Regions from separate parts of the Homo sapiens genome. Here regions 1, 3 and 4 are each linked to region 2. Evidence: promoter capture Hi-C in 16 types of primary human blood cells and fetal thymus (Javierre and others, 2016). All regions are on one chromosome and are shown on one strand. The core of a region is centred on a gene start or on the middle of the fragment in contact, and the rest is flanking DNA. Distances in the headings are between cores, read along the strand shown.

Evidence for each region. Contacts are between HindIII fragments. The CHiCAGO score rates a contact against its expected background, and 5 or more counts as called.
Region 1: a contact is called between a fragment that was not itself captured here and the fragment with the promoter of EPB41L2 in region 2, in 4 of 17 cell types (non-activated CD4 T cells, fetal thymus, total CD8 T cells and 1 more). The highest score is 5.8, in non-activated CD4 T cells.
Region 3: a contact is called between a fragment that was not itself captured here and the fragment with the promoter of EPB41L2 in region 2, in 2 of 17 cell types (total CD8 T cells and M1 macrophages). The highest score is 5.8, in total CD8 T cells.
Region 4: a fragment that was not itself captured here is called in contact with the fragment with the promoter of EPB41L2 in region 2 in 1 of 17 cell types (fetal thymus); the score reaches 7.7 in fetal thymus.

Annotation. Positions count from the first base shown.
Region 1 is chr6:131,517,781-131,520,480 of GRCh38, reverse strand. No RefSeq gene overlaps it. Among named protein-coding and RNA genes, the nearest start is that of ARG1, 54 kb to the left of the region's middle. The HindIII fragment of the contact is 1,171 bases long and covers 796-1,966 here.
Region 2 is chr6:131,061,951-131,064,650 of GRCh38, reverse strand. It overlaps EPB41L2 (erythrocyte membrane protein band 4.1 like 2), which reads left to right and starts at 1,406. Exons shown (of 20, transcript NM_001431.4): 1 at 1,406-1,496. It overlaps LOC105378004 (a long non-coding RNA gene), which reads right to left and starts at 1,248. Exons shown (of 3, transcript XR_942993.3): 1 at 1,035-1,248. RefSeq lists silencers at 1,170-1,509, 1,850-1,949. The HindIII fragment of the contact is 3,039 bases long and covers 1-2,700 here.
Region 3 is chr6:131,564,993-131,567,692 of GRCh38, reverse strand. No RefSeq gene overlaps it. Among named protein-coding and RNA genes, the nearest start is that of ARG1, 6.9 kb to the left of the region's middle. The HindIII fragment of the contact is 160 bases long and covers 1,205-1,364 here.
Region 4 is chr6:131,536,656-131,539,355 of GRCh38, reverse strand. No RefSeq gene overlaps it. Among named protein-coding and RNA genes, the nearest start is that of ARG1, 35 kb to the left of the region's middle. The HindIII fragment of the contact is 9,527 bases long and covers 1-2,700 here.

The DNA of each region.
Region 1 (2,700 bases), core at 132-2,631, 460 kb before region 2:
AGTTGAAGGAATTTATCCCACCAGTTTCAAGCAACCAGTGGAGGCATGTGGACCCCAGCACTGCTTGACTGGATTTGGAGTGTGAACCACACCTCCCTTCCCTTGCAAAGAACTTGGTGCAGCAGCAAACCCTCCACTTCACAACTGGGTATATTTCCAGTCACTCAGTGTACCTGCTTGCCTGAAATAGGAGCCTGAGCTGCCTCTTCCCACCCCCACACCCACTCCCCACTCCCTCGCCAAGATCCTGTTGTAGCAGCAGTTACTCCACTCTGCAGCAGGTACTCCTTTCCTCTCTGGGGGACATATTTCCAGGTATTTGGCTCACCCTGGACATATCTCCAGGCATTTGGAGCATCCACTTTTCTAGATTGAGAGTCTAGGTTGTCCCTCCTTTCCTGGGCAGAGAACTTGGGGAAGTGGAGATTTCTTCACTCCATGCCCAGGCACATCTATGGGCAGTTGGCAGCTGCCTCCCAGACTCCCTTTTAACCTAGCACTTATGCCTGCCATTGGGGTATGTATAGGCAGGCTTGGCTGGTCTGGCCCTGCCCAGCTTGATACCTCCATCTGGGGAGTGAGCAGGGAGCTTAGACCACTGTACATTCCACAAAATTGCCCATTGCATGAGGCAGCAGAAGACATCTCAGGGTAAACAAAGATCAAGCCTATATCGGTGTCAGCCACAATTAGCTCTTATCCATAAGTGCCACCCACTGGCCTAAAGGATGAACTGCACAACTCAACAGAAAATCTGTTGACACAAGCACACAGCACTAGGGAATGAGATAAGCTTCCTGAGACCTCCACCATACCAGCCTCTCAAGAGGTAGTGAGCCTGCTTACATACCCAGTACATTGCTACTACAACCAGCATCTGAGAAATCCACTACACAAAGATTACCTACAACCATGGAACCTAAACAGAGCCTTTGCCGCTGAAAGCACCCAGAACCAAACCCAAAGGATGCTACAAAACACACATGACAGCTTGAGGGGGGAGAAGTCCCATTCAAGCAAAAGTAATTCAGAAATAAGAAGGAGAAAATGCTTATTCAGATGAGAAGGAACCAGAGAAACAATTCTGAAAGTATGAAAAAAAAAAACAGAGTGTTACAATACTCTCAAAGGACCACAATAATTCTCCTGCAACAGATCCTAATCAAAATGAAATAGTTGAAAGACCAAATGAAGAATTCAAAATATTGAATTTAAAAAAGCTCAATGATATCCAAGAGAAAGGTAAAAACCAATACAAAGAAATTGGAAAAAAAAATTTAGGACATGAAATAAGAGATAGATATTATTAACAAAAACCAAACAGAACTTCTGGAAATAAAGTACTTGTTGGAGAAATTACAAAATGCAGTTGAAAGTTTCAACAATAGACTTTACCCAGCAGAAAAAAGACTTTTAGACCTGGAAGACAGGTCTTTTGAATTAACCCAGCCAGACAAAAATAAAGAAAAAATAACTTAATAATAGTGAACAAAGCCTTTGAGATATATGGAACTATGTAAAGGGACCAAGCCTGCAAGTTATAGGTATTCCAGAAGGAGAAGAAGAAAAAGTAAAAAGTATAAAAAGTATAGTTGAGGAAATAATTCAGGAAAACTTCCCTGGTCTTGCTGGAGATCTAGACATTTAGATACGTGAAGTTTAGAGAACTCCTGGAAAATACATTGCAAGAAGAATCTCACTAAGACATATTGTCATTGGACTGTCCAAAGTCAACCTGAAGGAAAAAATCCTGAAAGTATCAGACTATCCAAAGTCAACATGAAGGAAAAAATCCTGAAAGTGGCAAGAGAGAAGAGTACAATTACCTATAAAGGAAATCTCAGCAGATTAACAGCAGACTTCTCAGCTGAAACCTTACAAACCATTAGAGGCTGGGGTCTTAATTTCATTCTTCTTAAATAAAAGTTATGCCAGCCAAGAATTTTATGTCCTGCTAAACTAAGCTTCATAAGTGAAGGAGAAATAAAGTCTTTCCCAGACAAACACAGGGAATTCATCACCTCTAAACTGGTCTTACAAAAAATGCTCAAAGGAGTTCTAAACATGGAAATTAAAGGGTGATACCTTCCTAAAAACACGAAAGTATACAACTCATGTATCTCATAAAGCAATTACACAATTGAGAATTTAAAGCAACTAGGTAATAATTAACATTATGACAAGAACAAAACCTCACATTTCAAATGTAAATGGACTTAAACGTAAATGAAATAAATGCTCTAATTAAAAAAAAATAGGCTGATGGAACAGATTAAAAACAAAATCCAACGATATGCTGCATACAAGAAACCTACCTAACTGGTAAAGATATTTACAAACTCAAAGTAAAGGAGTGGAAAAAATACTTCACACAAATGGAAACTAAAAGTGAGCAGGGATAGCTATACTTAAATCAGACAAAACAGACTTTAAATCAAAAGCAGTTAAAAAAAACACAAAGAAGCATATTATATAATGATAAAGGGATCAATTCAACAAGAAGAGATAATAATTCTAAATATATATGCACCCAATAGCAACACCAGAGCACCCAGATTCTTAAATACTACTAGACCTGAGAAAGAAAATAGACACCAATACAGTAATAATGGAGAACTTCAATACCCCACTGACAGCACTAGACAGATCATCAAGGTAGAAAATCAACAAAGAAATTCTGAACTTAAATCACATGCTAGA
Region 2 (2,700 bases), core at 157-2,656:
AATACAAAATTATAAAGTTAGTTTCAAGGCTTGTGAAAATGAGAGATCCCGAAGTTTGTTTCATTAGTTTCGTTGTAAATCTGCTGCATATTTCTTATTATGAGAAAATAATAGTATTTTCTCATTAAATTCCCAGGTCTCCTTTACCAGAATTGCTGTCTAATCAGATTTCTGCTCTGTTTTAGCACACCTTATAAAATTTAACTTGTATACTTAGCATATGGGATTGTGATTAAATTAATACATGTAAGGGACTTAGAACAATGCCTAGCACATAAAGCACACAATCAACCTTAACTATTATTATTTGTATTATTTACTAGAAGGACCTTGGCAAATAATTTATCTTCCCAAATCTTTTTGATGTAATGGAGCTCAAACGTGCCTGCCTTTTTCATAGGGTGATTGTGAGGATCAAATGATGATAAAATATGTGAATGTATTTTGTTAACTGGAAGGTATTGTTACTGAGGTTTCATTTGACATTGTTAATTTTGGAAAAGGTTCTGTTTAGGAAAGAAAGGGAGACGACTTTGGCTGTGGTGGAATCACTAAAGACCTCAATAAAAGTGGGAGGAGTAAAAGGGATAAGAGGTGCGTGTGAGGCAGATGCTGGAGGCAGTGAGCTGGACACGTTGTTTGACACCAGCTTGACGTGCAAACCTTCAAAAGATGAAATATATTGAATCTGAAACATATTGACCTCATTGTACAAAAGAAAAGAACCAGAAGGGTAGCGTGTGTGTGCTTGTGGCTTTCCACAATTTAGCCCCAAACTAGGTTTTTTCCAGACTCTTCTTCACCCGTGGTCATGCTCTGCAATCCAGATTCCCAGGCCTCTGCCCAGAGAAATCCTACTTACTCTGGGGAGGCCTTTCCTCCACGGGGTTTCCCCAACCCCTCCTGTCCCTCCCACAGGAAGAATAAATGGTTCCTTTTCAATGCCCTTCCTGTGAAAGCACTTTTTCCACTCTAGACTGAGGGAGACCCAGTTTTCCTTATTCTGCATCTCCAGGCTCTGCTCCAGTGTTTACCTCTAGGAAGGCGCTCAGTGAAGGTTTAGTCAGCAAATGCACTTTGAATAAATAACTTTTAAAAGTTGAGAGGACATTTAAGGCCGGGAATCGCAGTTGAGAACGCCTTGCCCAGGCGCATTAGCTGTCATCCGGGCTGCCCTGAGGGCGAAAGACGTCCTCCACCCCCGGGTCTCCGCGGCCGCGCTTGCCGAATCCCGCGGGAAAGGTCCCCCGCCCGCGCAGGGGCGGGGCCTGGGCGTCGGGGGCGGGACCGCCCGCGGGGGTTTCCGCGCCGGGGGCTCGTCCGGCGGGGTCGCGGGAGGGGCTTCCGCCGCGAGGGGGCGGGGCCGGCCCTCAGAGTCCTCTGACGGCCCCAGTCAGGGAATTTCAATTTGAAACCTAGCGGAGGGAGGAGGCAGGCGCGGCTGCCGGCGGCTGGGACTGAAGAGGGACGGGTCCCGCGGCGAGCGAGCTCCTGAGGTACGGCGTCGGGGTAAGGAGGCGTGCGGGGCTGCACGGGCCGGGCGACTGGTCAGTGTGGGGTTGCAGGGGCGGCTCAGATTTTTCCTCTGGCTGCAGCTGGGAAGCTGATTCCGGGCAGGAAGCGGTGGCGGGACGGTCCCACCGGGATGGGGGGCGGGGAGAGGGGGCCCGGCTTTGGGATTTTCTGCGGCTCCCTCTCTCCTTTCCTTCCCGGTCTCTGCCCGACCCGATTCTTGCCCGGGGGTCCGGGTCCTGTTGCTCCGGGCCGGATCCCGGCTTCGCTGCTCCCCGCGGTCCCCCTCTTCCCTCTTCCGGGGGACCGGGGCCGCGTCCCGGCGGAGCCAGGAAAGGCGGGGGCACGGGGAGGACGCCGTCCCCCCCGGGGTGCCGTGGGCTCAGGTCACGCGTCCGGGCCCCGTGGAGCAACAGCGGGAAAAATCCGGCTCCATCCCCCCCGCGGGGAGGGGGTCGGCCGCGGCGTCGCCCTTCAGGAGGAAGGTTTTAGGAGGGGAAGCGCGGGCCGGCCGCGCGCGTGGGGACTGCGGGAAGCCGGGCGAGGGCGGCGCGCCAGCCCCACGCGCGGTGCGGGTCGGGCCCGCTGTAGGCTCGCGTCCGCGCCCCCAGCTGCCGCCTGCGCCGTCTGGGAGCTGCGGAGAGGGACGCGTGTTTCGTGCTCCGATCCTTACAATTCCCACACCCAGGCCATCTCACCACAGATGGCTTGTTTTTTCTCCTCCTGCGCCTGGGGGCCGAGGGTTGGGAGCATTTTTAGGTGAGCAGCGGGGAAGGGCGAGGAGAACCTAAAGGAGCGCGACAGGGTTGAAGTCGGCGTCTGGGGACGCCATCCCCAGGCGCAGACGCTGCCCCCAGCAGCCTGAGGTCTGTGGTGGGACATCAGTTATGCTTCTCTAGATCGCTCACCTCCCCTGAGGTCAAGTTTTTTTTTTTATATATATGTATAAATAAAATGAGGTTTGGTGAGAAGAACTACTGCCTAGAGTCTATTATTTTGGGGAGGGGTCTGCGTATGGAGCCCTCCCTACGGACCCGGGTAGTCTTTCATTGAATTGCCCCATCAACACCACAGCTGCCCTTAATTTTAAGATCCCTGGGTGGATGGGAGAGAAGGTGGAATCTAGAGGAGCTGTGGCTATATTTTCGCTTTTCTGAATCACATCTTTCCCCAGTTTCTTGAACTTCT
Region 3 (2,700 bases), core at 35-2,534, 500 kb before region 2:
ATTTCTCTCTTTTACTTTGACATTCTGTAGCCTTGGTGTGATGTATCTTGGTATAGATTTTTATATATCATTTTTGGATTTCATATATCCTTCTTGGATTTTCTAGGCCTGATGGATGTGTTAATTTGTATTATTTATCAATTTTTTACAAAAATCCTGGCTGTGTTGTTGTTGTTGTTGTTGTTGGGCAGCCTTCTGAGCCAGGGTAGGCTCAGAGACTCTGAAATCCTGGCTATTTTTATGTGAGCTTCCCATTCTCAGAAGCTGAAAGTCTACAGGTATATTTTTGAAAATAGACAAAATTCAGTGGGAAGTTTAATTTATGATATTTGAGTGACATTTCCCAAATGGAGAAGTAAATAGGAGACCCATTCTCCGTATAGACTCTCTGAAGATTTGACTGAAGACATGTCTGCAAGGAGGCCTTGCTCTTTAGTTCTTCAGGATCAAGAACAAATAAATTGGAGTGATGGCTGAGATCGTGGAACATCTTCACTTGGCAGAGTCTAGCACCTTCAAAGCTATTCAGTTTTTTTAGCCTATGTGCTATAAATCATCTGATGAAGGACAGAATTCTTCTGGCATACCTAACTGCACACCTATATTCTGTGGGTGGTTTGGAACAAATATTCCTACTAAGGAAGAGGTGAGCTGATGAAGTCAGAAGACTCTACACATCTAGATTCTTTAATAATTAATCAGCCAATAAGTATTTACTAAATAATCATTTTACTTAGTGCTTGCTTCCATGCTGTTTGCTATTTGGGATCCAGGAAAATAATATATGATCAGTACCCTTAACTCAGGATCAGCTTCCCCAAAATTGCCATGTATCTTAGTCTCCTTTCCCCTGGTACAGTTCCTCAGTTTTTCTTTGTCCTACATCAACTTCAGACTTTTGAAGAGTCTCTCAACTTAAATTCATCCGAGGTCTTCTTTAATTAAATTCAAGGTTTGCATTTGTTCAAGAATACTACAAAAGTAATGTGGTGTACTTCTCAGTGTATCACATTAGGAGGGATTTGACGTTGGTCTGTCCCATTACTGTCCCATTACTTTAATCACGTGGTTAAAGTAGTACCTCTCAAGTTTCTCCTCTGCAAATTTGCTATTTTTCCTTTGTAATAAATAAGTATCTTGTGGGGGCAATACTTTAATATTATATAATTATCCTCTTTGTCATCACACTTTGACCCACTAAGCTTAGCATCCATTGATGATTCTTGACTAAAGTAAATTACTGCTGTGATATTTGCCAGATGGTAATTGTCTATTTCCATCATTTTATGTTATTTAAAAAAAATGAATTCTAGTTAATAAACTTGATAGATTTAATTTCTCAATGAAATTGAGAAATGTAAGCTTCATTAATATTTATCAATTTATAGTTGATATACAAAAATATACATATCTAATGTATGCTTTTTTTTTTTTTGAGATGGAGTCTTGCTCTGTTGAACAGGCTGGAGTGCAGTGGTGCGATCTTGGCTCACTGCAACCTCCACCTCCTGGGTTCAAGTGATTCCCCTGCCTCAGCCTCCTGAGTAGCTGGGATTACAGGCTCATACCACCATGCCCGGCTAATATTTTGTATTTTAAGTAGAGAAGCGGTTTCACCATGTTGGTCAGGCTGGTCTCGAACTCGTGACCTTGTGATCTACCCGCATTGGCCTCCCAAAGTGCTGGGATTTACAGGCGTGAGCCACCGCACCTGGCTTAATGTATACATTTTAATGAGCTTGGACATATGCATACATCCATGATACCATCACCACATATAAGACACTAACTCCAAAAAAGAGAAAAAAATTGTAAATACTGTAAAGCAAAAATAAAAAAGTAAAGGAAAAAGTATATGTTTGAAACACTTTGAGCAACAAAGGACCAATGGCCCTAATGAAAAGGCGCTCTTAAAAATCATTAAGGAGACTTAAATCTAAGACCTCAAAACTATGAAACTGCTACAAGAAAACATTGGGGAAAATCTCCAGGATGTTGGTCTGGGCAAAAATTTCCTGAGTAATATACCCCACAAGCACAGGCACCAAAGCAAAAATAGACAAAGGATCAGATCAAGTTAAACAGCTTCTGCACAGCAAAGGAAACCATCAACAAAGTGAAGAGACAACCTGCAGAATGGGAGAAAATATTTATAAACTACCCATCTGACAAGGGATTAATAACCAAAGTATTTAAGGAGCTCAAAGAACTCTAGGAAAAAAACTAATCACCCGATTAAAAAATGGGCAAAAGATTTGAATAGATAGTTCTTAAAAGAAGACATACAAATGACAAACAAGCCTATGAAAAGGTGCTCAACATCACTGATCATCAGTGAAATGCAAATCAAAATTACAATGAGATATTACCTCACCCCAGTTAAAATGGCTTTCATCCAAAAGACAAGCAATAACAAATGCTGGTGAGGAAGTGGAGAAAAGGGAACCCTCGTACACTGTTGGTGGGAATGTAAATTAGTACAACCACTGTGGAGAACAGTTTACAGGTTCTTCAAAAAAGTAAAAATAGAGCTACCACATGATCCAGCGATCTCACAGCCAAAACAAGGGAAATCAGTATATTGAAGAGATACCTGCCCTACCATGTTTATTGCAGCACTATTCATAAAAACCAAGATTTGGAAACAACCTAAGTGTCCATCAACAGATGAACAGATAAAGAAAATGTGTTATATACCCA
Region 4 (2,700 bases), core at 193-2,692, 470 kb before region 2:
AGCTGTGTCCCAGAGGGGCACCTGCCAGATGCCAGCCAGAGCTCTCCTGTATGAGGTGTCTGTCAGCCCCTATTGGGAAGTGTCTCCCAGTCAGGATACACAGGGATCAGGGACCCACTTGTGGAGGCAATCTGAACCTTATCAGAGCATAAACACTGTGCTGGGAGATTCACTGCTCTCTTCAGAACCGTCAGGCAGGGATGTTTAAGTCTGCTGAGGCTGTGCCCACAGCTGCCCCTTCCCCCAAGTGCTCTGTCCCAGTGAGATGGGGGTTTTACCTATAAGCCCCTGACTGGGACTGCTGCCTTTTTTTTCAGAGATACCCTGCCCAGAGAGGAGGAATCTAGAGAGGCAGTCTGGCCACAGTGGCCTTGCTGAGCTGCAGTGGGCTCCACTCAGTTTGAACTTCCTGGTAGCTTTGTTTACACTGTGAGGGTAAAATCCCCTATTCAAGGCTCAGTAATGGTGGACGCCCCTCCCTCAACCAACCTCGAGCACCCCAGATCGACCTCAGACTGCTATGCTGGCAGTGAGAATTTCAAGCCAGTGGATCTTAGCTTGCTGGGCTCTATGGGGGTGGGGCCCACCAAGCCAGACCTCTTCGCTCCCTGGCTTCAGCCCCCTTTCCAGGGGAGTGAATGGTCCTGTGTTGCTGGTGTTCCAGGCACCACTTGGGTGTGGAAAAAAAAACCTCCTGCAGCTAGCTTGGTGTCTGCCCAAACAGCTGCCCAGTTTTGTGCTTGAAACCCAGGACCCTGGTGGTGGAGGCACCGGAGGGAATCTCCTGGTCTGCGAGTTGTGAAGACTGTGGGAGAAGTGCAGTATCTCGGCCTGAGTGCACCATTCCTCATGGCACGGCACAGTCCCTCATGGCTTCCCTTGGCTAGGGGAGAGAATTCCTTGACCCCTTGTGCTCCCTGGGTAAGGCGATGCCCCACTCTGCTTTGGCTCACCCTCCATGGGCTACACCCACTGTCCAACCAGTCCCAGTGAGATGAACTGGGTACCTCAGTTGGAAATGCAGAAATCACCCGCCTTCCACATCAATCTCACTGGGAACTGCAGACGAGAGCTGTTCCTATTCGGCCATCTTACCAGCAATGCTTGGGATGCATTCTAAGGACAAAATACTGACAAAAATTTTTAAACTTTTTTCAATGGTAATATTGGTATTGTTTCTTAAAATTATTTTCTTTACATTATAGGAAAAAATACAAAAGGAAAGAGATACATTTATAAAATTAAAGAAATCAAGTAAAAACACTGTATTGCTAAAGCTGAAAATATCAGTATGAACTCATGTTCTTAAAAATGTATATCTTCCAGCTTCCAACTCTGTCCATGGTATATCCAAGATGCAATGTCACTGCATTAGCAACTGGCTCTCTTAAAAAGGTGAATTTGACTGTCTTAGTCTGTTTGTGCTGCTATAACAAAATATCTGAGACCAGGTGATTTATAAAGTACACAGTTCTATTTTCTCACAGTTCTGGAAGCTGGGAAATTCAAGATTAATGTGCCAGCAGGTTCAGTTGTCTGGTGAGGGCTGCTCTCTTCTTCCAAGGTGGTGCTTTGTTGCCGTGACCTCCAGAGAGGAGGAACACTCTGTCTTTATGTGGTAGAAGGGATGGAAGGGCCACAGAGGAGGAATGCTTCATCCTCACATGGCAGAAGAGTGGAAGAGAGCAAACCCACTCCCTCGAGTCCATTTATAAGTTCTATTTATAACCCCCTCCTTGAAGGCTCTGCCCTTATGACTTAATAACCTCTTAAAGACCCCATCTCTTAATACTACTACATTGGCAGTTCAGTTTCAACATATGAATTTTGGTGAGTGCACCATCATTCAAACCAAAGTACTTATATGATTCCCCACTGAAGGTATTCAGATCTTGTGCCCAAAAGCAAGCAAAGAAACTCATAAAGATTAATGGAGTCCTATCAAAGGGACTCAGAAGCCAGCTTAAAGTGTCTTCTGATTACATTTGTGACCATTTGAACAACCACCCCTGCCCTGATTGTAGTTTTTTGAAATTCATTAAATTTATTAAAAATCAGAGTTTATAATGACATTAACAAAAGGGGAAGTCAGAAAAAAAGGATATCACATATCACTAATTAAAATAATTATTAAACTAATTCTTTATTCTCAAAATTTGTGAGTAATGGGAAAGAATAAACAATTCATCCTTCTTTTAAGCAGGGACTGTATCACAGGGTAAACAGAAAGCTCCAGTTAATAAGGAATGTCCCCAATCAACACATGTGAAGTGACAGAATTAGGAAATAATCATTTGGCAACAATTAAATCAACCAGTCAGGCCATGAACTGGTGTTGACACTATTAGATGAATGATGGGTAGGGAACTAGACACCTATATGAGGCCATGATAACCACACAGAGATTAGTTTCTTCTTGCAATGGAGGGTTCAAGATGTTATCCCCACTCTCAGTGGTCTCTCTCAGCATCCCACTGGTGGACAACCAGATATTGTGGGCCTATTAATGAGATGCAATATGAAGTAAAACACATCATCTGTGACGTAGTCTAGCCCAAATCTAATAGAGCCTTTATATCTAAATTCCAATGTACAGAAACAAGCTAAATGATACCACAAAGAAACAATCAGAGACATCCAGAATTTGGTGTATTTTCTTCATTATGAGTTATTCTCTTCAGCAAGACAGTGTCATTAAAA